4 separate regions of the Homo sapiens genome follow, and all the other regions are linked to region 1. The links are contacts of gene promoters, found by promoter capture Hi-C in blood cells and fetal thymus (Javierre and others, 2016). All regions are on one chromosome and are shown on one strand. Each heading gives the region's core, a stretch centred on a gene start or on the middle of the fragment in contact. The rest is flanking DNA. Distances are from core to core; before and after follow the strand shown. Region 1 holds the start of ZNF32-AS2 (ZNF32 antisense RNA 2). Region 2 has its middle 52 kb from the start of CXCL12. Region 3 overlaps LOC107984179 (a long non-coding RNA gene). Region 4 overlaps LOC124902544 (a long non-coding RNA gene).

The links. Contacts are between HindIII fragments. The CHiCAGO score rates a contact against its expected background, and 5 or more counts as called.
Region 2: a contact is called between a fragment that was not itself captured here and the fragment with the promoter of ZNF32-AS2 in region 1, in 1 of 17 cell types (M0 macrophages). The highest score is 5.5, in M0 macrophages.
Region 3: a fragment that was not itself captured here is called in contact with the fragment with the promoter of ZNF32-AS2 in region 1 in 1 of 17 cell types (megakaryocytes); the score reaches 5.1 in megakaryocytes.
Region 4: a fragment that was not itself captured here is called in contact with the fragment with the promoter of ZNF32-AS2 in region 1 in 2 of 17 cell types (megakaryocytes and total CD8 T cells); the score reaches 6.2 in megakaryocytes.

What each region holds. Positions count from the first base shown.
Region 1 is chr10:43,641,062-43,647,765 of GRCh38, forward strand. ZNF32-AS2 (ZNF32 antisense RNA 2) reads left to right here and starts at 4,881. Exons shown (of 3, transcript NR_047558.1): 1 at 4,881-5,236; 2 at 6,051-6,148; 3 at 6,508-6,704. ZNF32 (zinc finger protein 32) reads right to left here. Exons shown (of 3, transcript NM_006973.3): 2 at 5,003-5,141; 3 at 2,801-3,740. The coding sequence starts at 5,072. The coding sequence ends at 2,989. The region is part of intron 1 of ZNF32-AS3 (ZNF32 antisense RNA 3); the gene reads left to right. ZNF32-AS1 (ZNF32 antisense RNA 1) reads left to right here and starts at 2,811. Exons shown (of 2, transcript NR_047557.1): 1 at 2,811-3,046; 2 at 3,789-3,986. RefSeq lists an enhancer at 4,575-5,774. The HindIII fragment of the contact is 3,514 bases long and covers 3,471-6,704 here.
Region 2 is chr10:44,434,168-44,440,871 of GRCh38, forward strand. No RefSeq gene overlaps it. Among named protein-coding and RNA genes, the nearest start is that of CXCL12, 52 kb to the left of the region's middle. The HindIII fragment of the contact is 667 bases long and covers 2,630-3,296 here.
Region 3 is chr10:44,399,451-44,406,154 of GRCh38, forward strand. It overlaps LOC107984179 (a long non-coding RNA gene), which reads left to right. Exons shown (of 3, transcript XR_001747298.2): 3 at 1-2,398. Among named protein-coding and RNA genes, the nearest start is that of CXCL12, 18 kb to the left of the region's middle. RefSeq lists enhancers at 1-105, 106-850, 851-1,594. The HindIII fragment of the contact is 951 bases long and covers 2,893-3,843 here.
Region 4 is chr10:44,307,450-44,314,153 of GRCh38, forward strand. All of the region lies in intron 1 of LOC124902544 (a long non-coding RNA gene), which reads right to left. Among named protein-coding and RNA genes, the nearest start is that of LINC02881, 18 kb to the left of the region's middle. RefSeq lists enhancers at 206-415, 3,366-3,868, 5,148-5,317 and silencers at 2,436-2,605, 3,450-3,779. The HindIII fragment of the contact is 3,613 bases long and covers 1,185-4,797 here.

The DNA of each region.
Region 1 (6,704 bases), core at 3,631-6,130:
GTAGCTGGGATTATAGGCATGCGCCACCATGCCTGGCTAATTTTGTATCTTTAATAGAGACAGAGTTTCTCCATGTTGGTCAGGCTGGTCTTGAACTCCCGACCTCAGGTGATCCACCCACCTTGGCCTCCCAAAGTGCTGGGATTACAGGCGTGAGCCATCGTGCCTGGCCTCAGATTTTTCCTATATATAAATTTTACAATGGCTTATCCTTAAAAAGTACTTAAGTTATTCTATTATTGCTGCATAACAAATTACCTGAAAATTTAGTGGTATCCAACCATAATGTTTCATTTTTCTCATGATTTTGTCAGGGATTAGGTGAGGCAGTCTCACTTTGGAGTCTGTCATGCAGTTTTGGCCAGATGTCAGATGGGGCTGCAGTCATGTGAAGGTTCTACTGGGCCGGAAACCTACAATGACCCTCACACATGGCTGGCAGGCTGTTGGGAGCTCAGCTGAAACTGTTGGCTGGAGCATTTATATGCAGCTTGTCCATGACAGTGATTTCAGGATAACTGGACTTTTTACATGGGCTGGTTTCACCTGAGAGGAAGTGTCTCAAGAGAACCAGGCAGAAATTTTTCAGACCTTTTAGAGGCTTTTCAGAACTATACTTGGTGTAGTATCATTTCTGTTGTGTTCTATTGTTTGAAGCAGTCACAAGCGTGTCCAGATTCAAGTGGTGGTGACATACCCCCCATCTCTTCATGGGATGAGTGTCAAAGAGCTTGTGGGCAATACATTTATACTGTTTCATGGTTACTGAAGTATATCTTACATGTAATAAAATGCACGGATCTTAAGCATCGAGTTCAATGAATTTTGGTAATTGTTTAGACCCCTGCATCAACTGCCTGATGTCAGGTACAGAACATTGTTTTCACTCTGTAAACTTCCCTTGCGTGCCTTTCAAGTCAATCCTCACACATAGTTTTTCCTGTTCTGTGAAGGCACATAAGTGGAATTATACTATTTGTGTATTTGGCTTCTTCAACTCAAATAAAACTTTCAGATTCATCCATATTGTTGATGTACCACGTGTATGTTCTTTTTTATTGCTGAGTTGTATTTCACTGTATGGATATACTACAGTTTCTTTATCCCTCACCCATTGTTGGACATTTCTAAGTGTGTGGCTATTATAAATGAAGATGACATGAACATTCTTGTATACAGCTTCAAATGTTATTGTGGTATCTTTGGAATATTTTTGTATTATTAGAATCCAGTGTTTCCAAATTGTTTCAGTGCTCAAAGACCTTTGAAATTTACCTCTCTACATGGTAAAGATTTACTATTACAAGCTTTTTGGGATTAAGGAAGCAATAATTTATAGCAGGGGGTTCCCAACCCTGGGCCATGGATCAGTACCAGTCTGTGGCCTGTTAGGAACTGGGGCACACAGCAGGAGGTGAGTGGTGGGAGAGCAAGCGAAGCTTCATCTGTATTTACAGCTGCTGCCTGCTGCTCACATTACTACCTGAGCTCTGCCTCCTGTCAGATAGTGGCAGCATTAGATTCTCATAAGAGTGTGAACCCCATTGTGAACTGTGCATGCAACGGATCTAGGTTGTGCACTCCTTATGAGAATTTAATGCCTTATGATCTGTCACTGTCTCCCATCACCCCTAGATGGGACTGTCTAGTAGCAGGAAAACAAGCTCAGGACTCCCACTGATTCTACCTTATGGTGAGTACCTTATAATTGTTTCATTATATACTTCAATGTAATAATAATAAAGTGCACAATAAATGTAATGTGCTTGGATCATCCCAAAATCATCCCCCTCTGTGGGAAAATTGTCTTTATGAAACTGGTCCCTGGTGCCAAAAAGGTTGGGGACCACTGATTTATAGGATCCACTAGAAAGGATGGAATGGTGTCTTACCAAGAAAACCAAAATCTCTATCATTCATCATTTCACTTACATAAATGCTCAGTATGAAAAATTATAGAGATGGCTAAGATTTTAAAAAATGGAAATGGAAATTTCCCCTCAAAACCAATTTCTCCTCTGCAGCCTTCTTCAAATCTCATCCCCTGGAGGTCAGAAAAAAGGATGGGTTAGAATTCCAAATTTCTTGGTGTGTGTGCAGGAGGAAGAGGATAGTATTGTTGGAAAGTGGAAGTTCATTATTGACTACAAACTACAAGTCTGGGTTCAGTAATAACACTTATATCCTTTCTAGATAACCCAACCCCAAGATATTGCTGCTGTTACCAAAGAGGGAGTGAAGGTCTCTGAAAATGTAGGAGTCCCTTTAGTAGATGGGGAGAAATGGGTTAAAGATTTTTAAAAATTGCACAGACAGTAGTTGTTTGCTCTTTGGTTACAGGTGAATTATCTCTATCCTAGTTAGGAGTGGAGGACTGAAGTATGTCTCAATGCACAAACTAAGGCTGTGCAGGCTTGGAAAGAAATTTTCTTTTGTAATAAAAGGCTAGGCCCCTTGCTATAGACATGAGTGATTAGTTACAATAGGTTATTGGGGGTATCATCCAGGTAATGAAATGTTCAACAAGAAGATTATAAAGGTAACTAGATTTGCCCCATGGATTTTGCCCAGTGGTTTTGAAGGCAAAACAAGATTAATTTGAATATGTAAGGAAGAAAAATAACTTGGGATTGATGAGGGGCTGATTTTTTACATTTATAAAAGCCTGATGGTGTCAACTACAAATTTAAAATCTGTATTGGGTATACACAGAACAATCTCTAGTGTGGCACCAGATTAATGGGGGTACCTTGAAAAATCAGGTCAGAATAAAGTGACAGAAATTATAAAACATACATGATAATGATAATAAACAAGACATTTATTTTTCATACTCTTTTGGGGGAAAGGAAAAAAATCAGTTTGCCCTACCCAATGATGGTCTTTCTGAAAGATTCTCCATTCATTCCATAGAACTGGATAGGTTGCTTCATCTCAGAGGATTTTGTACTCTTAATTCATAAAGAGAACTTCTCTTCAGGAAAGTGGTCAAAGGGTGAGCCTCTGTGAGCAGCTTCGCTGGTGCACAGCCAGACTCCCTCTCTGGGTGAAGCTTTTTCCACACTGGCCGCACAGATAGGGTGTCTCTCCTGTGTGGATTTTGCCATGCAGAATACAATTCCCCCTGGTGTGGAAACTCTTCCTGCACTGGGTACAGGCATAGGGCTTCAGGCCTGTGTGGACTCTGATGTGAACAATTAAGCTTCCTTTCTGACTGAAGGCTTTTCCACACTGATCACATCTATAGGGCTTCTCACCACTGTGAACTCTCCTGTGAACAGCAAGGTTACTCTGATTCCTGAAGCTTCTCTGACAAATAGCACACTCGTAGGGTTTCTGTCCAGTGTGGAGTCTCTCGTGGACAGCGAGACTACCTCGTTGACTGAAGCTTTTCCCACACTCCTTGCACTGATAAGGCTTCTCTCCCGTGTGTATCCGTTGATGTGTAACAAGATTGCCTTTGGCCCTGAAGCTTTTTCCACAGTGGGTGCACTCAAAAGGCTTTTGACCAGTGTGGATTCTCTCATGTAACGTTAGACTACCTTTTTGCCGGAAGGATTTTCCACACTCCTGGCACTCATAGACCCTTTGTCTCACTCCAGGTGAATCTTCCTGTAGTGTCTTCGAATCTGGGGATTTTTGTTCCAGCTTCTCTCTTCTGAAAGAATTTTGGATATCCCAGCTTGAGGATCCTGTAGCCTCAGAGTGGTCATATTTGTGGTGGGCTTCAGTCATCACATCTGATAAAATGAGAGGGAAGTCATATAAGAAGCACCAATAATGCTGAGTTAGAATAGGGAAAAAGAAACATAATACTTTGAGTGCTTATGATGTGCCAGGCCTTATTCTTTGCATAGACAATGCAATCCTGAAAACAATGCCATGAGAGTGATACAGATAATGGGAGCAAAGGGAGCCTGTCAAAGGTCACAGAGCTAGGTAAGTTAGAGCTGACTCAAATAGGCATTCTCCATAGCAGTGTACTGCCTCTAAATTTAATTTAGGCCAACAAATAACCTTGTAAGATAGACATGGTTTTCTCTATTTTACAGGTCAGAAAACAGGCTCAGAAAATTTAGAAAACTATACAGAATCACACAGAGCCCCATACCCAACTTTTATCTGACTCCAAAACAGGTGTGGATCCAGGCTATATAAGGCCTAAAACTTTCCCATTTTAGAGGCACCCTTTTAAGAAAATGTATAAAATTAAGCACAGGGTCTTGGAGAGACCAATCCAAGTGAGGGGTCCTAAAACTGAAGCTGCATTTGCTTCTTCAGAAATCCACCTCTGTCCAATCTGTTCTGACAATAGAATAAGCACCATGACCTCAGAAAATATGTAGCACAATCCTGGGTACTTTACATCTATCATTGCTAATCCCTGCAACCCTACAAGATAGAACTTATTGTCCTATTTTACAGACGAACCTGGAGCTTAAGGAAGTTAAATAACCTGTCTGATACTGCAGATCTAGCCATGGCAATTATAGAATCTGATCCAAGGAATTTTTCCCATTAAAATCCTTGCTATTTTCAGTCTACTAAGCTATGGCAAAACTGAAATCAATTTTGGTTTGGAAGTTATTCTCTATGCAGATATTGACTTTTTTTTTTCCGAATACTGCCCTGCATCTGAGCCTCCTGGTGCACTTTAAATATGGGTCCATTCATCACCATTAACAGTTTTCTTGGTGTCTGTCACTCCAGGGTAATCTTCTCCTTGTTCCCTTGCCTTATTCAGAGACAGTGCTGAGATTTAAGCTGCTCATTCATTCTCAGAGACTACTTCAACGCTACCTCCATATCAAGATGGTTCTCTTGCTCTGTTTCTACTATTACTTCTAACTCCAGCTCACAGGCTTTTCTTATAACCCTAGGAACAGCAAGCTCTACCAAAGCAAGGTCTCCTCTGCTTCCTCAGACTGCCGACCAGTGCTGAGAACAGGGACACTGAATATCTGTGAGCTGAGCGCATCCAGCCATCAACTGACTCACTCACTGAAGAACGCTACATTCTGGGCATATCTTCCATGACAGTCCAGCAGGGTAGCTGTTGGAAATCCAAACATGTCCACTCCTGCTTACGACCTCAGTCACCACCTCTTCATATGATTCTTCCATGGGCTGTTCCTGAGCACCTGAGGGAGAAAAACAAACAGAAACAAACAGGAAAGGGCAGAATAATTGATATGTGAGAAGGAAAAAGTCAACAGTTGTTGAGACATAAGTGAATGTAAGAAACCTAGATTGTTTGACATAATGTCAGTTACTAAAATATCACTGCAAAATGGGCCCAAAGGTACCAGGACCACACACAAATGAGTCTAGGAGGAAGCAGGATGTGGGAAAGCAGAGAACACATAAACATATATCTCTTCCTGCCAATCCCAAGTTAATAGTCACTCCTGTTTACACTTTGGTCTTGGCATGTAATTGGGATCTTCCATTTTGGTTCCCCACCTAACCACCTACTACTTTCTTCCCTCCAAGCCCCAGAGGAATTCAGAATCTAAGAAAACAACATTTCAGCCTTCATGATTGGTTGGAGCCAATCAGCTCTCCAGTTATCTGTAGTTACAAAGACTTAACAAGAGAGTCCATTTGTTACCACTGAACAATTCTTAGGAGGCTCCAGACCCAGACTCGCCTTTCTCTTGCTCTTGAAGATACAAGAATACCAGTTCTGACCAAGTGTAAACACTTGTCAATTCTTGGAAAAGAAAGACCTACTCTGGACTCCAAGCCCAAGGCACTCCAACTAGGTTAAGTAACTTGCCCAGAAACCCACAGAAAATAAGGAGTCAAAGTGGAGCAAAGGTTCAAATCCAAGACTTTCTGGATCCAAAATGTATGCTCTTACATTAGACAGTTGTCTAGTTCCTAATCACTAAAGAGCTGGTCAGAATGCTTATAAAATTGAACAGAAAGGAAGAGAGTTTGACCAGATTGAAGTGCTCTTTCAGATCCTAGGAATCCTCTTGTATGTGCTCTAAATTATTTTTTAATTTTTTTAAAATTCTGAGTCAAGATTTTGCTCTGTTGCCCAGGCTGGAGTACAGTGACTCAATTACAGCTTGCTGTGACTTTGAACTCCTGGACTCAACGGATCCTCCCACTTCAGCCTCCCAAATAACTAGGACTACAGGTAAGCACCACCAAGCCTGGCTAATTTTTAAAAATTATTTTAACTTTTTTTTGTAGAGATCGGGTCTCATTATCCTGCCCAGGCTGGTCTCCAACTCTTGGCCTGAAGTGACCCTCCTGCCTCGGCCTCCCAAGACATGTAGGCATGAGCTACTACACCTGGCCCACATGATCTATTTTTTAAAAAAAATATTTCTTCTTACTTCAGGATCCTAATTACTGAATTCTTATACTTTTAAGAAATGCAGTGGTTCAATGCATACTCCTTGTTTCCCTCTAATTTGTCCTATCAAAATGCTGGCCTTCTGATTTAATGAAATAATAGTATGATGCTACCATTCTTTGTTTTGTCAACCTAAGCACCTGGTTCTTCTTGACAACTGCACATTCTGCTACATGCTGTGATGACCAGGAGAATCATTTAAATTTTTATTTGGAGGACTCACTTCCAACTTGGAACACAAGCTGCAAAGGAATTCCCTACCAGCATGCCAGCACATCATTTGGAAGTTCAAGGTATTCTTGCTCAACAGCTGCACACACATTAAAAGTCCCTG
Region 2 (6,704 bases), core at 1,713-4,212, 790 kb after region 1:
AGAATTGTTCTTCTGACTCTTTCTTATTTGGGTAGGCTATTTCAGAAGGAAGATCTGGGGCTCAAGGGCTGCTGTTCATATTTTTTTTTTGTCCCATGGGGTGCTCCTTGGATGTGGTGCTCTCCCCTTTACCCTAGGGATAGGGCTTCCTGAGAGCTTAACTGGAGTGATTTTGGTTTCTCCTTAGGATCTAGCCACCTAATGGAGCTACCAGTCTCTGGTCTGGTATTGGGGAGGGTCTGCACTGAGTCCTATAATGTGAACTGAACTGTCTCCAGGTCTCTCAGTTGTGGATACCAGCACTTGCTTCAGTGGACGTAGCAGGGGAGTGAAGAGGACTCTGCAAGGGTCCTTGGTTGTAGTTTTGTTTATTGCACCATTTTTGTGTTGGTTGGCTTCCAGCCAGGAGGTGACAATTTCAAGAGTGCATTAGCTGCCATAGTATAGGGAGGATCAGGTGGTGGGCAGGGCCCTAGAGCTCTGAAGAGATTATGTCCTTTGTCTTCAGGGTTTTTTGGCTGTCTCTGGGCACCTGCAGCAGCAATCCACTTCCTTCAGAGGGTCTGTGGATTCTCTCCGCTTTCCGGGTATGTTGCTATGGTAGTTCTTGGAGCAAAAGTTCACGATGTGAGTCTCCATACACTGCTCTGTCCAACCGAGTGGGAGCTGCAAGTTAGTCCTGCCTCCTATCTGCCATTTTTCCAGGGTTCTGATCATCTGTCCTTTCTTCTGTAGAGTCTTAGGCTGGGGAGGTGCAGGAGAAGGGGAAGTGGGTACCCTGATAATGCAGTTTTCCTGACCAGGGTCTCCAGTTCTTTGGGACTTTGAGCCAACTAAGACAGAGGCAGAGACAGGAGCTCCACGCCACCTGTTCTCTGCCCACATCACTGGCAGGGCCCCCAGGGACCTCTGCTCTTTGGGACCAACAGACACATTTGCTCTTCACTCCTCTAAAGTAGCCCTGAAGGCCGGGGCTTTCAGCCTCAGCCTCCTGTGGCCTCAGCCTCGCTTGTTGCAAAGTCTCAGGTATTTCACCTTCCTACCCCCAAGTGGGGAATCAGCTCGAGGAGTCAAAAGAGATGTTTCTTTTTCCACTCGGGTCACTGTCCAGTGTCCCCAAAGCATAGATGGATCCGAGGTGAGAACCTCTGTGGACTGAGAGAAGCAGTGGTGATGCATGTCCTTGACAAGCTGGGACTAGACTGGACACACCAGCTTCTGTCCAGATCTGCTTGCTCATCAACTTCACTTGGCTTCTGCTTTGCTCTGCACCCTGGTTCCGGTAGCTGCAGGGATATTGAACTCACATTTCAATGGCACTATCATGCCTTGGCCGCCAGAACCTAAACGTTAGAATCTGGCTCTTCCCTCTTCCCCTTGCCTCACTTTTCACCAAATCCTGATCATGCATCCTCTGCCACAGCGAGAGCTCTTTCCCTCCTTGCTGCCCTCCTGCCCTCTGCCTGGTTTAGCCTCATGGCTTCCTTCCTGCATTATTTTAATGACCACCTGCCTGTGTACCCCTCGTCCCCAGGCTCCCTCCTCCAGGGCACCTTCCCTTAGCAGTGAGAGAGATCTTTCCAAGGCATAGCTGGGGTCCCCACTTTCTAGGAAGAAAATGCAATGTCTCTCAAATAACATTCATAGGATTTTCATGGTTCTTGAGGGAGAAACGGGAATCCACATATCTCACCTGCCTTTATATACCAGAGAAGAGGCAGCAGACTGCCAATTCCCTGCAGAGGCCCTGGGATGGAAGGCTCCATCCCTGTCCTAGCCACTTGTTCTTCCCCTGCATCTGTGGCCTCCGGGCTAGTGTGCTCAGGGATCTGACTGCTGCCTTGGCACCCTCAGCCCCATCATCCTTCCCATGAAGTGCCCTTTCTCAATGAGTAGCCTCATCCACCACTGTCACCCAAACCCCAGGCCCATCCTTTGCTGTATCTTCCCTACTTATCCAGCTGGTTGAAGCTGCCTCTGAGTGCAGTTAATCTGCTCTTGGTGCCCTCTTGTCTCCTGGCCCACCCTCACCTGTGGATACCTGGCGCTGCCTCTCCAAGGCCATCCCTCCCACCAGTGTTTGCCTTACCCCTGTCCCCTGCCTCTCAAGTCAGAGGTAATCCCTGCTGCTGCTAGGGTGATCTGTCTAGTGATAAAATCCGACCTGCTGGTACAGCCTGCAAGCCTCACTTGGTCCTCCCCTCCCCTCCACCTCAGCTCCCAGCATCCTTGTGCACCTGTGGCCAACCATGCCCAGCTCTTTCTCATGTGCATTGGCCTTTGAACATGAGCTGTCTTTGCCTGGAGCATCTTTTCCCTCCTGACACTGGCAAGCTGCTGCTGGGCCTGCCCTTCTCAGCATGATTTTACCTCTCCCAGGAAGCTCTCCAGGGACCCTTAGGCTGGGTCTCATGTGCTGGCTCTTGCTTCCTCAGCACTCTGTTCATGCTGGAGAAATAAAGTGGCATAAAGTAGAGTCCTGCTCCTTAAGGTTCGAGTGTAGACCTCTGACTGCTCCTGCAACAATCACTTCTATCACCAGCATCAGCAGGTTTTCCCTTGCCACTGCATCTTTCCAACAGCACATCAGCTTGCAGTGAAAGCTTGGTCTTTAAAAATAGGAATATGAAGCTTGTTTCCTGCCTCAGGACCTTGTTCCTGACCCTACTCCTTCCTGGATGGCCCCCGTGCAGGTCTTCTCAGGGTCATCTTGACTCCGCATCCCTCCTGCAACCACCATCCCACTTCTCTGCTCCTCTCTAAAGGAACATCTGCAGAAGTGGCATGTCTAATACCAAAATGTTGGTTCCTACCCCAGAACTGCCCCATCCCCACAGCCCTGTTCTACCTAGACAGGGTCCGCATCTCACGGAGGGCACTGCCATCTTCCTGTTTGGCCTTCCCACCCAGGAGCTCCTACTGCTGCCTACCCTACTTCCCATAGTGCTTGGGGTTATGATCTCCATGTGCTTCTACTCCAAACCACCTGTAGTTTCCTGTCCCTTCCAGAAGAAAATCCAATCCCAACACCGTGGCCTGTAAGGCCCTGACCACCTCCTGCCATGCCTTCACTTGCCCTGTTCCAGCTACACTGACTGTGAGATTCCTATAACATGAAGCTGTTTTTTCTCACTCCAGGACCTTTGCATTGACTCCACTCCTTCCTGGACAGCCTTCCAGGCTCTTCTCAGGGTGTCTCCCTCACATCGCTCAAGTACGTTCCCTCAGAGAGGCCTTCCCACACCTCCGGACCTGGTGTCCCTGGCCATGTCCTCTCCTGCTCCCTGAACACAGCAAGCTTCCTTCCATTCATATTATTTATCAGGACCTGAAATGGTCAATTTATTCACTTATTTATTGTCTGTTTCTCCTTCTGGAAATATAAACTTCCGGGCAGGGACCTCATGTGACTTATTTATCACCTAAACCCAGGGCCTGGCTGGTACTGGAGGAGCTGATGGGCCCTGGGGGTTCCTCCCAGCTTCATGACATGGCCCACCGCTGGCCTTCTGCATCAAGGCTGGGAATACTGTAGCCAGAAGGAAAATCTCTCTGTTAACATGGAATTAATAAAAGAATGCTTATACATGGTTGCAGGTAATATATATATAAGATAAAAATGACATTCTGCCGAGAGATAGAGAGAACCCATAAACTGTTTTTCCTGCATCCTTACATTGTCTTCATATGAAAAGAAAATTTTAACTGCTGGCTTACACACTAGTTTTAGATGTAAGCCACCATTTATGAGACCTTTTGGTAAGTGCTGAAGTAAAGTGATGAGCAGGAAACCAGGCCAGCATGTCCCGGCACCAAGAATGGGAGTGGCCACAGGGCAGCCTTCCCTGGAGAACTTGCTCTGATGCCCCGTGAAGTCCTGTGAGCTCTGGGGCCAGAACCTGGCCTGGTACCCCTGCGCCCCAGGGCTCTGCCCCAGTCCATGATTCTTTCTGGGATTGTCATGGACTTAACTCATTACCAAACACGCATAGCCCCTTGAGGAGTTTTGGCACACAAGGCATTTGGGATGTCTTGGGGAAGAAAATGAAATACTTTAATGTAATCAAAAACACAGGAAGCAGATGCCCCTGAAATATAATATGTTCTAGGAGCTGCTCCCCTGCTGTGTGGCCTTTCATGCTCTGCAATATTCCAATGCCTTTTTTTTTTCCCCACAGAATCACTCACATGTCACTTTGGTGAGAGGATGAGGCATTCAGATTGGGAGAACTTGTTGCTTTGTCAGCATTATTTTCAGACAAGAAGTTTTACTTCTTGTTTTTATATTTTGAGAGAACAATGTCTTACAACATTCAGGAATTAGTACTTTGCATTTTCAGGTTCACTTTGGTGCAGCCCTTAGGGTGCTTGTGGGTCTGGCCCAACCTTCCCTGGAATGAGTCTTCGGTTGAGGGGGCCTGACGTCAGCGCCCTGCAGGGTTCATCTGTGTCACCTAAAAGTGTCCGGCTGCTTGGCCTGGCTATTTCTGCTGAATGCACAAAAATACATTTTGCCTTTTCTCCTTCCAAGTTGCAGTTTCTTTTCTGCAAATGAAGCAGAAGAAAAGTGCTGCATTGACATGATGAACTGAAAGCACACTCACTTCAGGGACATGTTTCTTCAGTTGGGAAATTCCTCTTTTATTTGTGACTAGTTGTTTTCTTTCCTTAGTCAACTTCCTTCAACCCTCAATGCATGTGACACACACACACACACACACACACACACACACACACACACACATAATCGGGGTGCCCAGAAGTTCCCAGGGCCCAGCACTGGCTCTCTGAGACTGTAGGCTCTGGGGGAGGGTGGGCTTTAGGGAAGGTGTCTGTCTAGGGTGGGGTGTGCAGGTGAAGAGCTGGGGTTGGCCTATGAGAGACCTGGGCCCCACTGGCTGCCCCTTGATGTCCTCTCTGATCTTGTCTTTTCCATCCATGAAACAGAGGTGAGCCACAGTGCCGAGCCCACAGGGGTGGGGAAGTCACTGTGCACAGCTCCAGGCACAGAATAGGTGCTGGGTGAATGTCAGGTGGGACTCCTCCCACTCAGGGAGAGTGTGAGGCAGTGGAGGAGAGGTGTCAAGAACCCCTGAAGCATCCTCCTGGGGAAGCCACTCACAGGAAAATGATGTGGATTTGAAATCTCTTGGCTCCTTCTTTTAAAGCCTCCTAGGACCCCACATTTGATGTGCAAGCTCAATTCTGCAGCCAGACCCAGAGTGCCGTGCTCCCTCTCTCTCCTTATTAGCAAGCAACCCAGTGACTCACTGCAACACAGTGCCCAGGATTGTAGGGACAAGTGGAGGGTGTCTGCACAGACTCCCTGGCCAAGGCACATGAGTGCTCCTCCCAGCCCTGCCCTCTGGCCCCCGTTTCAGAAGGGACCACTCGGGACAGTCAATCCAAGTGATGTGTCCAAGCAGGCCCTCCTAGGAGTTATCAGGGTGCAAATGCAGGTCATAATCACACCAGCCACCCACCCTTTGACCGCTGCTCCCCAGACACCCCCAACACCTGAGCCCTGCCGCGAGGGGTATGGCCAGCCTGCCATCTCCAGGAGTTTCCGGAGCACCCCAGGCTGGTCCATGGTGCTGGGTCCAGCCCTCAGAAAGACCTTTCCAGCAGGCTTGGATTCCTGCCTCTTGGGTGGTCTGATAAACTGTCCCCTGGCTGGTGTTTGGGCCAACTGTACCAGCTTCCATCTGATGTTTCTGGCAGAGGAATTCTTGAGGCCTCTGCACCTCGTTAGCCCTCAGAATGGGACTCACTAGGCTCAAGTGTGGGTCATTACTCGGATCTGTGAGCTTGTTGCTGTGACCTTGGGTCCGCTGACCAGATGGCCCAGATGCAGGGGGCCCGGGAAGCCCCAGGCCCTGCAGGAAGCCCCAGCTGGGGCTCCCTGCTCATCCCGTTAGAGGAAGGGCTATGGTAGCAATTGTTTCAGGCCTGAGGCATGAGGGGAGCCAGGGGAACTTGATTTGGGAGGTAGGCAGGCCAGGTGCAGGTCTTGACTTTCCAAGTAGCTGTGGCCTTGGGCAAGACCTCTACTTCTCTGAGCCTCGATTTTATCCCCTGCTGTGTGGCCATGGATGGAAGTCCCAGGGAGGGCACAAGGACTCACTCACCACAGTGTCAGACAAGAACTGGTTCTCAGCAAAGGAGAGCTCACATGATGGTGCCTGTGGATATCAGAGGCACAGAAAACAGGACACACACTTTTGTTAATTTAAGTTTAAAAAATAAAAATGAATAAAGATTAGCCCCTTTTTGGCTTGTCAAATCCCAGCCAGGCCACACTCTTCCTTTTGCAAACCATCCCATCCCAGTTCCTCACTGAGACATTTGCCATCCTGCAGGTGTGGATCGCCTTCCTTGTGAGCCTTTGCTGTTTCAGCACTGTGCTGGGCAGTGGATGGGCTCCCACTAGCCTTTCTGTGCCCTGGAGTCTGTCAGCCTTGGGCCTTATTAGTGATGTGACCCATGAAGGGAACTGAACTCCTCTAAGCCTCAATTTCATCTTCTGTAAAGGGGGTGTAATGAATGTCCTGGTCAAACTTGCCCCAGGCATTCACATACTATTGTATGAACATTGCACTGCGGGCAGTGCCCGGCATGTGGCTGCCTTTTAGAGATGGGAGGAAGGAATCAAGAATATCCTGTTCTGAACTACCTGCACTACACATAAAGTAGTATGTGAATGT
Region 3 (6,704 bases), core at 2,118-4,617, 760 kb after region 1:
AACCACCAAGGCCGGCAGAGCAGTGAGAGCTGCATTAATGGGGAATTTCAGTGAAATGCCGCCCAGCTCCTAAATTCATACCAGATGAGTTCCAGAAGATTAAAGTTATTACAATAAAGCCCCAGGGAATCAATCACGCTCTGCCTTGTAACCTTCTTGGTTTTCTGCATCATTCACACAAACCACTTTCTGCAGGGCACTGGGGTGTTCCCTAGCTGGGCTGGACCCACAGGCCCCAATAAAGCACTTCAGGTTAGAAAGCCTAGCAAAAGGACAGGCTTGGTTCAGGTAAGTGGCTGGGGTCTGGCAAGTGGCTTGTTTAGTGACCAGTGACAATGCGGTGTGGGAGCCCAGTGGGGAAGGGTGGGCTCCCTAACCCCCAGCCTGCCTGAGGCATGCCCCTGGGGGTGGTCACTGTTGGAACCTTGATAAAAAAACAGCCTGAAAGTTGGAAAGTGTCTTGGTAAAGAGTAGAACACGGCACAGTTCTCTTTGATACTGTTTTTATGTTTTCATTTTTTATCCTTTTTTTTTCCCAAAGTGCCTCCCAGCCATCCAGGTTCAATCTCAAGTCCTTGTATGCTCAACCAGGCTCCTGGTGAGCCAGTGATCCTGCGCCATTCTCCCCCAGAACCCCTGGTGGCCACCTGCACTGTCCCTGAACTCCTGTCCCCGAGTGTGAACACAGTCCTCATTCTGCATTACACCCCTGGGAGCAGGCATCAGCTCTCTCTGCCTCCACTTCTATGAGAGTTCCAGATGATAGAGGTGCAGAATAATTCACTAAAGAGTCTGCAACCTCTAAGGCCCAGACCTGCCCTGTGGTCTCTGCCCCAGCCATCTGCTATCTCCCTCCCAAATCCAAGCTCTACAAAAGTTCCAAGTTTGTCCACGTTTTGGTGTTCAAGCCCCCAAACTCTCTGCCCCATCCTGAATGCTCCTTCCTGCTTCGCAATATTGAGTAGGACCATCCATTCCCTTCAGAGAAGTCCCACACTCAGCTTCAGAAATGTAGCTTGGTCCAGTGACCAAGCAAGATATTCACAAAGCTGACTGACACAGGTGCATTTCACACTTCTTATTTCTTTATTCTTATTTATGATAATATTTAACTTAGGATCAATGCTCAGCGTTTGTGAGAGCTATCTGGAGTTTCCTTTTTCTGTGCAACTTTTTTTGGTTTTGATGTCAGAATTCTATTAGCTTTCCAAAGAAGAATCTACAGACTCTCCCCTCCCCCAACATTCTTGCTCTTGGTCAGTTTAAACAGAATTCAGCATTTGAAAAACCCCATCCTGAAAACACTGAAGCCAGTGCTTTTGAGGGCTGTAGTTCTTTTACAACTGTTTGATTTGCCATTTAGGCATTCCTATCTCTTCTTGAGTCCATTTCGATCATTTGCATGTTCCTAGAAAACGGCTTTTCATTCAGGTTTTCAGAGTCATTGATATGTTTAAGTAATTCTGTTTTCTTCTTTTTCGTACTCTGGTTATTTGTACTTTCTCATACTCTGTTTCTTTGCCCCCTGCCTCCTTCCCTCCCCCTTTCTCTCTCCTTGCTTTCTTTTTCTTTTACTTGTTTTTGTTTTCCTTGACTGGGCGAATTAATATTTTGTTGCACTCCATTTTGTTTCATTCTATTCCATTCTCCTCCGCCACCAAAGACATACCTTTCATGTCATGGTCAATTGTATGAGGCTTTTCTGTTGTCACTGTGATTCTATTTTTAATATTCTTTTTAGTGACCTTAATCAAAAGAATTATTATGTAAAATACCTAGTTCATTTGTTTTTATTGGTTCATATTTTTACTGAAAATATTAATGGCTATATATTTTTCTATGAACACAGCTTTAATAGTATTCCAAAGATTATGAAAAGGAATATTGATTTTAAGGAAATTCCATGAGGGACTTTCAGTTTTTCTCTCACTGAAGTATTGTTTAGGGAAGAGCTTTTAAAAGTTCAGAATTGTTCTGTGTTATTATTGCAATTAGTAAATTTTGTTTTGCATTTTTAGTTTTCCTTTATTGATGTTAAAGAAGGTGGTTTTTGTTATTTTTCTTTTTCTTTTGAGTTTGAGGTTTTCTTTGTGAACAATAGAAAAGGATACACATTTTCTGTACACAAGGCATGGGGACATATATAAAATGTCATACATGTTTATATGAATATATGTGTGTGTTATATATATGATCAATCTATTAATGGAATTATTTGGATTCTCTGTTTCACTCTTCCTTAATTTCTTGACATACAGGATTGAGTGAGAGAGCTACACTGAAGTCTTCCAATGATTTTGTGCTTTGTCAAATTTATCCTTTTATTTGTTCCAGTTTTTGCTACATTTATTAATGCTATGATGCTATATAGTAAATAAAGGTTCTTGACAGCTATATCTTTAAATCAATCAAGCAATAAATATTATAAAATATTTTATATTTTATGTTGAACATTTATGTCAAATACAATATTTTTTATATTGAACACAATTTCAATATTTTTTGGTCATGAATGTAACTGTGTATAATATTGATACTCAGCTTTCTATTTGTTTACATTGAATTGGAATATTTTTGCTCTTCATTCTGCTTTCAGTCTTTCTAAGTTCCTTTATTTTAATTTCATATTTTGTAGAATACAAGTAACCTGGAATTAGGTTATTTTGTTTTGGTCCTGACTGATGTCCCTTCTCCTTTGGGTTAGGCTTATACACTCATATTTATTGCATAAGATATACACTGTAAGACCTAGCTTTGGTGTTTCTACTTGAAAGCTTCCTTGGTTTTTAATGTTTCTGTCTTTTGAACTAGAGTCTGTGTTCTGCCTCCTAAAAAACATCACCAGTAATTAAGAAGCAAGAATGTCGTTTTTACACCAAAATGTTGATTTTAAGCTTCACATGGTGAAATTAGATACGATGTTGTATAACATTTGGCACCTTGGTGAGAAGTCAGATTAGAAAATTGCCCGTGGCTCTGAACTTTCTGTGATTTGACTTCAGTGTATTTTTCCCAATAGAGTCACCTGTTGCCTATTACAATGAAGTTAGATGTCTCCTGACCTCAGCCCATCCCCTGTTGGATAAAAAGTTTCTGCTTCAGTCTTGCTGTCCACGCCCGTGGAAGAAACTACAATAGGGGATTTACTCTCCTGGCCCAAATCAGGTCGAGCTTCTGGGCCTCCCTACTCCATGCTGGGGGATACTGGACATTCAGAGTGCCTTTCTGTCAGCCCCGCAACACAGCCCCACTGGGGTGGCTGACTGTGCTGACCTTGTGTCTCTGAGCTCAATTTCAACTGGGGTGTATCTGAGGGTTAGTCTTCAGAGAACTTGGAATGAGGTAAGACTTTCCTAGTTCCATGTAGGTGATTATTTTTCCTTTTGTCTATATTGAGTTATTTTGGTTCATTTGAGAAGTAACTGGGCAGGAGGCTTGTTGACATTTACTTGAAATGCCATCCTTTGTCACCTCTAAATCAATCTGTCCTCTTCTCCGGGATGGTATCTCTTTGAAACAAGAGTAGTTTCATTTTCAAGGTCGGGGCTCTAGCACCTAGCCCAGTGTGTGGCAGGCAGGGAGTGCTCAGGGCATGTTTGTGGGGGCTTTTCTCAACAGTGTGCAGGGCTGAATGAGGGAGTGGAAGCCTCTACTCTGCAGCAAAGATAAGACAATTATGATCAGCCTCTGAATTCCCATCACCATTGCCAGCAGCTGGGCCATAGGCACTTGTGCAGCCACATGGAATACCTCCTTTGTTAGAAGTACCCAGTTTGGACACTGTGGCCCTTTGGTTAGCTTTCATTTTCATTGTATCTCTTCATACATTTTTAGATTAAAAAAAGCTTTATTTAATAAAAATAAAACATTATTTCTTTAAAGCAAGCATTTAAAACATTTAGTGTGTACTTCTTCTGATATTGATTTTTTATTAAAAAAGACCAGAAATTCCTTGGAAAACATAATTAATGGCCAATGTTGAGGATGGAAACTTTAACTTTCACTGAAGAAGAACCATTTTCAAGTTCATATAGACAGTAAATTAGCCTCTGGAGCAATGACACTGTACTCAAGAGCCCCAGCCATCTGGAGAAGTGGTTTCCATGCGAAAATTTACAGTTGCATGGTTGTATTTTAGTGCTTTCAGTTTGGTTTCTCTTGAGAAATTTCCTTCTTTTGGTGAAGTTATTTAAATTTGGACATGGCTTACATGGCAACCAGAATTCCAAATTCTCATTATAAGGGAGTCAATGCCTTGGCCATATGTTCATGATTTCTCCTGTTGATAAAGTCTCCTGATGAATAAATACCCATTTTTTTCTAAAGGAAATTGCTATTCCAAATTTGATAAGAGTACTTTGAGTTTCTATTTCAATAATTCTGACAACCCTGATGGAGAAATCACTTTATTTTCTCCCTCCCTCTTTTTCTTCATTGTCATGAGTGATCAATGAATTAATCAGTTTAAAGAAGTGAATGTTGCATCAGTAAGAAGATAATTTTGTACATGTCTGTTTCTCTGCTTGGTAATTTTTTATTGTTTAGAAGTAGAAGATGGATTAAAAAGATAAAAGCCATCAGTGTAATATACAATATAAGGCATATGGTAGTTTGTCATTAATAAATATCCCACATCATTTAGGTTTTGCTTTGGTCAACAAACTTTTACCAAATTTGCCTAGTGTTTTTGATGAAACTGCTTGACCACTATTGACTTGGAGGATTAGTGATAGAACTGAAAGATCAAGGAAATTATTCGGAGAATTCATTCTATGGGTGGACTTTTCTAGTAACAAAAGGAAGAGCTGATTTTTGCACAAGCTATGGACAAATTAGGTAGTTGTGGACACTGATTCCACACAATACACTGGAATTTAACCCAGTGGTTCTTCCCATTCCTTGCAGTGCTCATCCCTACCTTGCCTGCTTAGATTAAGTTGAAATAAATCTTTGCCTAGTCTATTTCATCTGTTCTATTTACTTGTTACACACACACACAGACACACATATGTGTGTGTGTGTATATATGTGTGTGTATATATGTGTGTGTGTAATATATATATATATATATATATATATATATATATTTAGAGATTGCCCTAGGGTTTGAAATATACATTTTGAAATAATCTGAGTTTACCTTCAGGTACTGTTAAATCACTTCACATCTAGTGCGAACAGCTTTCTTCCCAATTGTTGCTCCTATCTTTTGTGCCACTGTTGTCACTTATTTTACTTTTACATAAGTTATGAATATACAATCTATTGTTACCATTACTGTTTTAAATTTTTGGCTATCTTTTAGAGCAATTTAAAATAAGAAAAAAAGAGAATTTTACCTTCACTTTTTCCATTTCCAACACTCTTCATTTCTTTGTGTAGATACAGTTTTCTAACCAATGCCATATTCCCTCTTCCTGAATAAGTCCCTTTAAAGATTTTTTGTGGAGGGAGTCAGCTGGGATGAATTATGTCTGTTTTCATTTGCCTGTGAATGTCTTTTTTTTTTTTAATTTTTGGAGGATATTTTCACTGGCTATAGAATTCTGGGCCAATGGTTTTTTTCTTTCAACACTTTAAATATATCACTCCATTGTTATTGTTTCGGACAAGAAGTCTGTTGTAATTCTTACCCTTGTTTCTCCTTAGGCAATGTGTCATTTTTCTCTGCCTTCAAGATTTTTCTCTTTGCTTTTAGTTTTCAGAGATTTGAATATATGTTGAAGTGTATTTTGTTTGTTTCTTTTATGTTGTTTCCATGTTTATCCTACTTGTGTCTTGTGAGTTTCTTGGATTTGTGGTCTGGTGTCTGTCATTAATTTCGGAAAATTCTTAGATGCTATTTCTGCAACTATTTCTTCTATTCCACTGTTTTTCTCTTTTCCTAGGATTTTAACTACATGTGTCTTAGAATATTTGATATTATCCACAGCTCTTGGATGTACTTTTTTTTATTGTTATTATACTATAAGTTCTGGGTTACAGGTGCAGAATGTGCAGTTTTGTTACATAGGTATACATGTGCCATGGTGGTTTGCTGCACCCATCAACCCGTCACTTACATTAGGTATTTCTCCTAATATTATCCCTCCCATATCCTCCCACCCCCTAACAGGCTCCAGTGTGTGATGTTCCCCTCCCTGTGTCCATGTGTTCTCATTGTTCAACTCCCACTTATGAGTGAGAACATGCAGTGTTTGGTTTTCTGATCTTGTGATAGTTTGCTGAGAATGATGGTTTCCAACTTCATCCATGTCCCTGCAAAGCAGGTAAACTCATCCTTTTTTATGGATGCATAGTATTCCATGGTGTATATGTGCCACATTTTCTTAATCCAGTCTATCATTGATGGACATTTGGGTAGGTTCCAAGTCTTTGCTATTGTGAATAGTGCCACAATAAACATACATGGGCTGGGCGCGGTGGCTCACGCCTGTAATCCCAGCACTTTGGGAGGCCGAGGCGGGCGGATCACGAGGTCAAGAGATCGAGACCATCCCGGCTAAAACGGTGAAACCCCGTCTCTACTAAAAATACAAAAAAATTAGCCGGGCGTAGTGGCGGGCGCCTGTAGTCCCAGCTACTTGGGAGGCTGAGGCAGGAGAATGGCGTGAACCCGGGAGGCGGAGCTTGCAGTGAGCCGAGATCCCGCCACTGCACTCCAGCCTGGGCGACAGAGCGAGACTCCGTCTCAAAAAAAAAAA
Region 4 (6,704 bases), core at 1,741-4,240, 660 kb after region 1:
ATTTGTTGCTATGAATGTCTATTACTTTAATTTAAAAAATGACACAAGATCAATTTTCTGTATTTCCAGCATAGAGACAGTTGCTGTCTTTTCATAAAGAACGTTTTAAAGAGAAATCCCTACAGAAATAATAAATAACATGCTTGTCATTCCTGACTCCCAGGGTACATGGTTGCTTTAAAACATAGGTTTTATTCATTTAGGTGTGGCAAGGCCAACAGATAAGGAGGGGACTGCTGTTGAACAGATAGTCTGTCATGCACAGATCTGGAGAGGAGGTACATGCCTTGCCATGGGGGCCACGCTGTGCCATGGGGGACCACATGGGGAAACTCCAGTGTTGGTTAGAAGTGTGGGGGGAACTGTAGCAAGAGCCTTTAATGTGGTTTTTGTGAGAAGGAACCAGCAAGGCAGTACAAGTAGACTTAGAATGGACTACTTTGAATAATTTTAGTGGGCTCTGGACACAGGGGTGTCATGAGTTGCCTGGTGCCTGGCCCTGGGGTGATTAGGGCAGGTGGCCGTGGCCCAGAGGGTGAGAGCCCAACGGAGGAGGTGGTTGGGAGGGCTCTGGAGTGGTTGGTTTGCATTGGAAAGCTGTGCTTGCTGAAGTCATTTACCATCTCTAGGGACTGGCCAGCCTGGGAGGGGCAGTCCCTCCAGGCCCAGCAAGGCACCGAGATTTCTACACCTTTTGAAATAGTTTAGTCAAAAAGCACCCAGTGTCTATTTCTTGCAACTGCAAAAACAATATTAAAAAGAAAGCACTGATTGCTAGATATTGCCACCCTAGGTAGTGGTCACAAAGACCATTAGCCCCTGAACCCTCATGGATGGTTGTTAACAGAATCTTCTGTTTCTATCTCTGCTGTCCTTTCAGCCTTTCCCATTGTCCCCTTATCTGCCTCTGAACCAGAACAACATGCATAGTTCATCCAGTGGGCAGTGCGTCCTCAAGGTGAGTAGCTCTCCTGGACCTAAGTCCTTGCACGGCGAGCAACCTTCTGGCTTGCACTTGGCCACTGCAGAAAAAGGGAATATGCCAATCCTTTCCATGGGAGCATGGGACATCTCAGAGCTCATTAACAATTGATGCTTTGGTTACATATCAACTTTGTGTTTTTCATTATCACAAGCTAATTCCCACGCCAACATTTTGGATCTCTAAGCAACTGGCAGGGTTAAGCTTAGCATCCTGGCTGATATTTGGTTGCTATCACTTCAATGTTAATAATAGTTTCAGTCAACCAGCTGGCAATATGGTAATTAGATAAAGCCTAGAAACAGGAAAAGACAGTAAAGGTGTCAACCTGGGACAGGGAAGCAGAGTGGCAGCCTTCTCTGTGAACCTACCTAGCTTGGCTAAATTTTCATAACACAAACACATACAAGAACACTCTGCTATTAAAAAAAAAATCTGGGGCCCATCAGCTTTCTTCTCATTTTTCCAGTGAATGGTTGGCAGAAATCTTCCAAACTGTCTACTTGACAATTTGTTTAAAAGTATAGTTTTGCAGCTGGGTGATTTGTTTGCTCTTTTTCCCTCCAAGAATCAAGTGTTACAATCAGGGATAGCTTGTTATGATGGAAGCCGTGCGGGCAGTTTGGATTTTCATGGGTGTCCCCACCCTGCTGGCAGGCAGCTGGCTTTGGAGGCCTGTCCTGGATCCCTCTCACTGACTGCATCTCCCCTCCCCTGGTCCAGGCTCCAGTTTACATGGCTCTGCCATTGGGAAGTGGAATGGCAAAGCATATGCGGCCGTGCTGCTCAGCCAGGTACAAATAAGAGTTGTGTTGCTGCTCATCTGGGGCTGCTGGCTGCCTAGAAAAATGAAATAAAGTGAGTTTGTAACAAGCAAAGTCCTGTGAATTGTGGCCTCTTTCAATCATAAACAGACAGTTTATCCACTGAAAAGATCATATGGCCCAAATAATCAGAGTGACTTTGGAAGAGTAATCCACGTGGTTTTATATTAAAGAGGGGGAGGGAGGGAAGGAGGTGGCGGGGGGAGGGAGAGAGAGAGAGAGGGAGAGAGAGCAAGCCAGATTTCTCCACAGAAACAGAAACGATAGGATATACAGATATAGTTGGATGAGGAGAGCTGTTGTGAGAATTGGCTCACTCAATTATGGATGCTGAGAAATTCCAGGCCACGCCATCTACAAGCTGGAAGCAGGTCCAGGCCAGTCCAAAGGCCTAAAATCCAGGGAGGAAGGGGACTGGTGTAAGTCCCAGAATCCAAAGGCCTCAGAACCAGGAGCTCTGATGTCTGAGGGCAGGAGAAGGTGGATGTCCTAGCTCCAGAAGAGAGAGACAATTCACCTTTCCTCTGCCCCATTGTTCTCTCTGGGCCCCCAACAGGTTGACCAGTGCCACCTACATTGGTGAGGGTGGACCTTCTTACTCAGTCCACTGATTCAAATGCTCATCTCTTCCAGAAACGCCCTTACAGACACACTCACAAATAATGTTTTACCAGCCATCTGGGCATCCTCACCGCAGTCACGTTGACACCTAAAATTAACCATCTCAGAAAGCCAAAAGGTGGCTGGGGACGCGGGGGCAGCATCAGCCGGCTCCCCGCCCCCTGACCAGGAGAAGGTGCGCACCGTAAGCACTCCACCCTCCCATTCGGCCTCTGGCCCCAGGTGCAGCCACTGTGGACTCACCCTGCCTGGTGCGGAACACTCCCTCCCTGTGATGTGCAGTCCGCAGATGGAAGCCTGGAGGGCCCACACGCTTCCGAAGCAGGGTGGCCCTAGGCTGGCTTGTCAGCGGAAGCTGTCTAGCGGGGATATGGCGGTGGCAGAAGTGAGGGGGCTGAGGGGCGGGGCGGACTTTAGCAGGAGGATAGAGGGGAATGTCCTTGTTTCATAAAGCTGAAGTGTGCCCAAGCAATGTCCCGGTATCTCTGTGAAAGGTTGGCTGCCTGGTGTGACTGAGAGACCGGAGATTTGGCCCTGGAAGGTCAAGTGTGGTGGTCTTTTTCTTTTTTCCACTTTTTAACCTTTTTCTACTGTGGGGAGATCGCCCAAGATTACTGAATTTGCTAACCCCAGGGGAAGTAGGCATTTGAGTCTAACAGCGCCATCCCTCCCTCCACAAAACCCTGTAGAGCAGTGTTCGCTCTATGACGTGTGAAGGTGAAAAGCCACTCAGGAAACCAGAGAGATTTGGCACTAAAATATATGTTTTTCGTAACCAGGGCAGGTTGGGCTTCCCTTCATCACACACCAACAGATGCACACGGAGCCCCGCGCGGCCCATTCCTGAGGGCGGATTCCCCAGGGCAGGGCGAGAAAGGCCCTCGGGCCCCTGCCTGTGTGCCCATCTCTCCATCCTAGGTCGAGGATGAGCGGGTGTGCGCAGGCCCAGCGTGGGAGAGGCAGGCAGGCCAGGAGCGGCCCGCCAGAAAGGTGCAAGGGAAAGCCCCAGAGGCGGAGGGGAAGGTGAGAACCCGGGGCGGTGATGCTGCACGCCCCTGGGGGACTGCATGGAGAAGGGGAGGGTGCGCGGGGCCGGCTGGTCCAGTGCACTCCGGCGCGGCCCCGGCACCCGTGGGCACCGCCATGTCCTTCGCTCAGCTCCGCCGCGGCTACCTGCGGGGTCTGCGCGGCTGCGGTGGCCAGGTGAGGACGTCTCTGCCCTTGCGCGGCCTGCGCTGTATGCTTCCTGCCTGGCCCGCGCTTCCCCTGCCTGCATCACCCGCTGCCCGCGCGGCTCGGAGCGCGCCCTCTGCTGGACCGGCCACGGCCGGCGGGCGGCTGCCTCCAGGCTCCACCACAGGAGGGGGAGCACGCGCCCTGCTGACCGCACGCCCACGTGATATCGCCTTCTGCCATCGCAGAAAGCAGCGGTTCAGCCTCTCTGCCTGCACACTTGCGTGATGGGGAGCTCACAAGCAGTCCACTGCATTGCTGTCAACGCTGACCATTAGAAACAGCTTCCTTATGTTGAGCCCTTTGTCGCTCACTCCATTTGTCCTACCTCTGCCCTCCAGGTCTCGCCTGCAAAGGGCTTAGCTTCTCATGACAGCACTTAAAGCATTTCAACACAGCATTAGCACCACCTAACCCCAGTTCTTCTGCTCTGCCCAAACCTCCCCGGGCCCTCCAATCATTGTGGTATGATGTAGCGTCACCATTCAGATGACTCACGTTAGGACACAAACCATCTACAGAGTCCCTTCTCCACTGTGGTGCCCAGGAGTACACCTGAGCCTGCAGGTAGGGTCTGCCCACTGCACAGGACGGGACGTCGCCTGCGGGACTCTAACCGCTGGCCTTCAGACACACAGGCAGAGGTCACAGCAGTCGATGTGCCAGAATCTTCACACTTCTCATGCGCTCTGAGTTTAGGTTCAATTTTTATTCATTTTCATATGTTCTACTAAGTAATCCCATCCCTGAATCCATCCAGCGAACATTTAATTCCTAACGAGTGCCAGACAGCTGCTATTATTGCTGTTCAGTCTAAGGGTGTATCTTCAGTTTCTGCACTAAAGTTCATCCTGGCTTACCACGTCCATAATTCTCATTTATGTTAATCATTTGGGATGGTGATGTTTTTAAATATCCAATATATCTGTAATGGCTTCCAGATCCATCTAATTAGTGAGTTTGACAGGCAGCCTTCGTATGTCCTAGTGCTGTTAAAATACCGAAATCCAGCTTCATATTCCGGTAAAGAGGCTGCACAGCCCCTTTCCCCTTTGTGAAAGATTGCTTGACAAACTACCAAGGCTTTTATGAGGAGCCCATGAAGATCTTAACCTATTGTCTTTAAATTGATCAAAAAGCTTCCTCGTGTCACCTTGTCACATGCCTTACAGAAATCCAGAGACACTAAGTCCACCACATTTCCCTGATGTGCAGCCCAGTAATTGCACTAGCGTCTTGCTGCCCTGCTGGGCGGTTTTGACAGAACACCTGTCATTGCCTCTCCTGGTCTCTAAGCCTGTTGTTCTGCTGGGCAGGCTGGACACTGAGGTCCCACGACTGCACACAGAGGCACACTCAGTTCTCAAACAACCACTCTATGCACTCCTGACTCAGAAAGGAGCCTGGGACTCAAGCTTTGTCTCTGATGGTCCCCTGAGGCGGCGGGTGCTTTGTTCCTCTCTTGTGCTTAGCCATGCCTTGTCCCAGCAGAAGTGTCTCAAGTCATGGGGTTTCCCCATGTCCCTGCAGAGGGTATTTTAGTCTAAGAATACATGGCATTCTTAACAAGGGCTTCCTGATATTAATCATAAATAGTCCTGCACTGATTTCACACTATTATTCTTTCTTACAACTTTTGTTTTTAATACAGCTGAACACCCACCTCCTCAGGCTGTGCCTGAATATGTGTGTGATGTGTATGGTATGTAGGACAAGGATCCTATAGGAGATAATGAGTATTTTAAATATATAAGACATATTATTTACTACTATATATTTTTAAGGAGAGAGAAGATGTAGCATTTTCATTGCACTGGAAACTATACTGCAGTGATGGCTGAGGCCTAGATGTGTCCTTGAGGTGGAGGAGTGCTGGGGAGCAGGAGGTTGGGTATGGGGAGTCTGCTCTGTCCTGCTTTCTGGCCTCAGCTTCCTAGTTTAGTGAATGGCTGGGATGGGATGATCCCAAACATCACTCCCAACTCTTCTACAACATCCGCAAGTCATCACTTACAATATAGACCTATGGTCTCTGAGATTTGTAACTGACTTTTGTAAGAGTACTACTGCTACTAATGAGAATAGTAATTGACACTCACTCATTATGCATCTGTGACTTGGGCTTCAGCAATTTGCTGAGTTCTTATAACATATCTCTGAGATAGATGTACTACTCTATTTACAGATGAGAAAGACCCAGGTCTGGCATGCTCAAGCCACTCGTTCAAATGAACATGCTGTTATGCAGCAGCCAGAAAGCCAGGTCTGTCTGGATCTTTTACATCCTCTGGCCAGAGGCTGCAGTGTGGAGATTCTACCTGAGGAGACATACGGAATCTAGAACTCTGCAGCCCAGTGTCCAATATGGGATCCAGTCCGGGCGCGGTGGCTCATGCCTGCAATCCCAGCACTTTGGGAGGCCAAGGCAGGCGGATTACCTGAGGTCAGGAGTTCGAGACCAGCCTGACCAACATGGTGAAATCCTGTCTCTACTAAAAATACAAAAAGTAGCTGGGCATGATGGTGCATCCCTGTAATCCCAGCTACTCAGGAGGTTGAGGCAGGAGAATCCCTTGAACCTGGAGGCGGAGCTCTGAGCCACCTCCCCCAGTCTGGGAGCCAAGTCCTTGGCCTCCATGGTTGACCCACTTCTTGACCCTCTCCTTCACTAGGCAGCCAGTGGCTGCTTCATTACAGCTCCACACTTCAACAACTCCCAAAGAACCCAAATATCATTAAGCAATTTTATAGCAGTCTGGGGCTGACTGACAGTTCAGAAGTGGCTGCCGAGTTACTTGCCATCCAACAATTAGAAAACAGTCAAGGCCTTGGTGGGGGGTGAGGGTGCTTAGCACAGGGCTGAGGGCACAAGTATAATGTCTAAGACCCTGCACAGAGTCCTGCCAAAGCCTTGGCAACAATCCCAGTGCTGTGTCTGGAGAAAATGACAAATGTTCCAGAAGTGGGAGGGCACATGTCTCTCCTGGAGAGACTCTGCTTGAGGCTGCATTTACACTAGGGCACCCTTTGGGTTACTGTGGAAA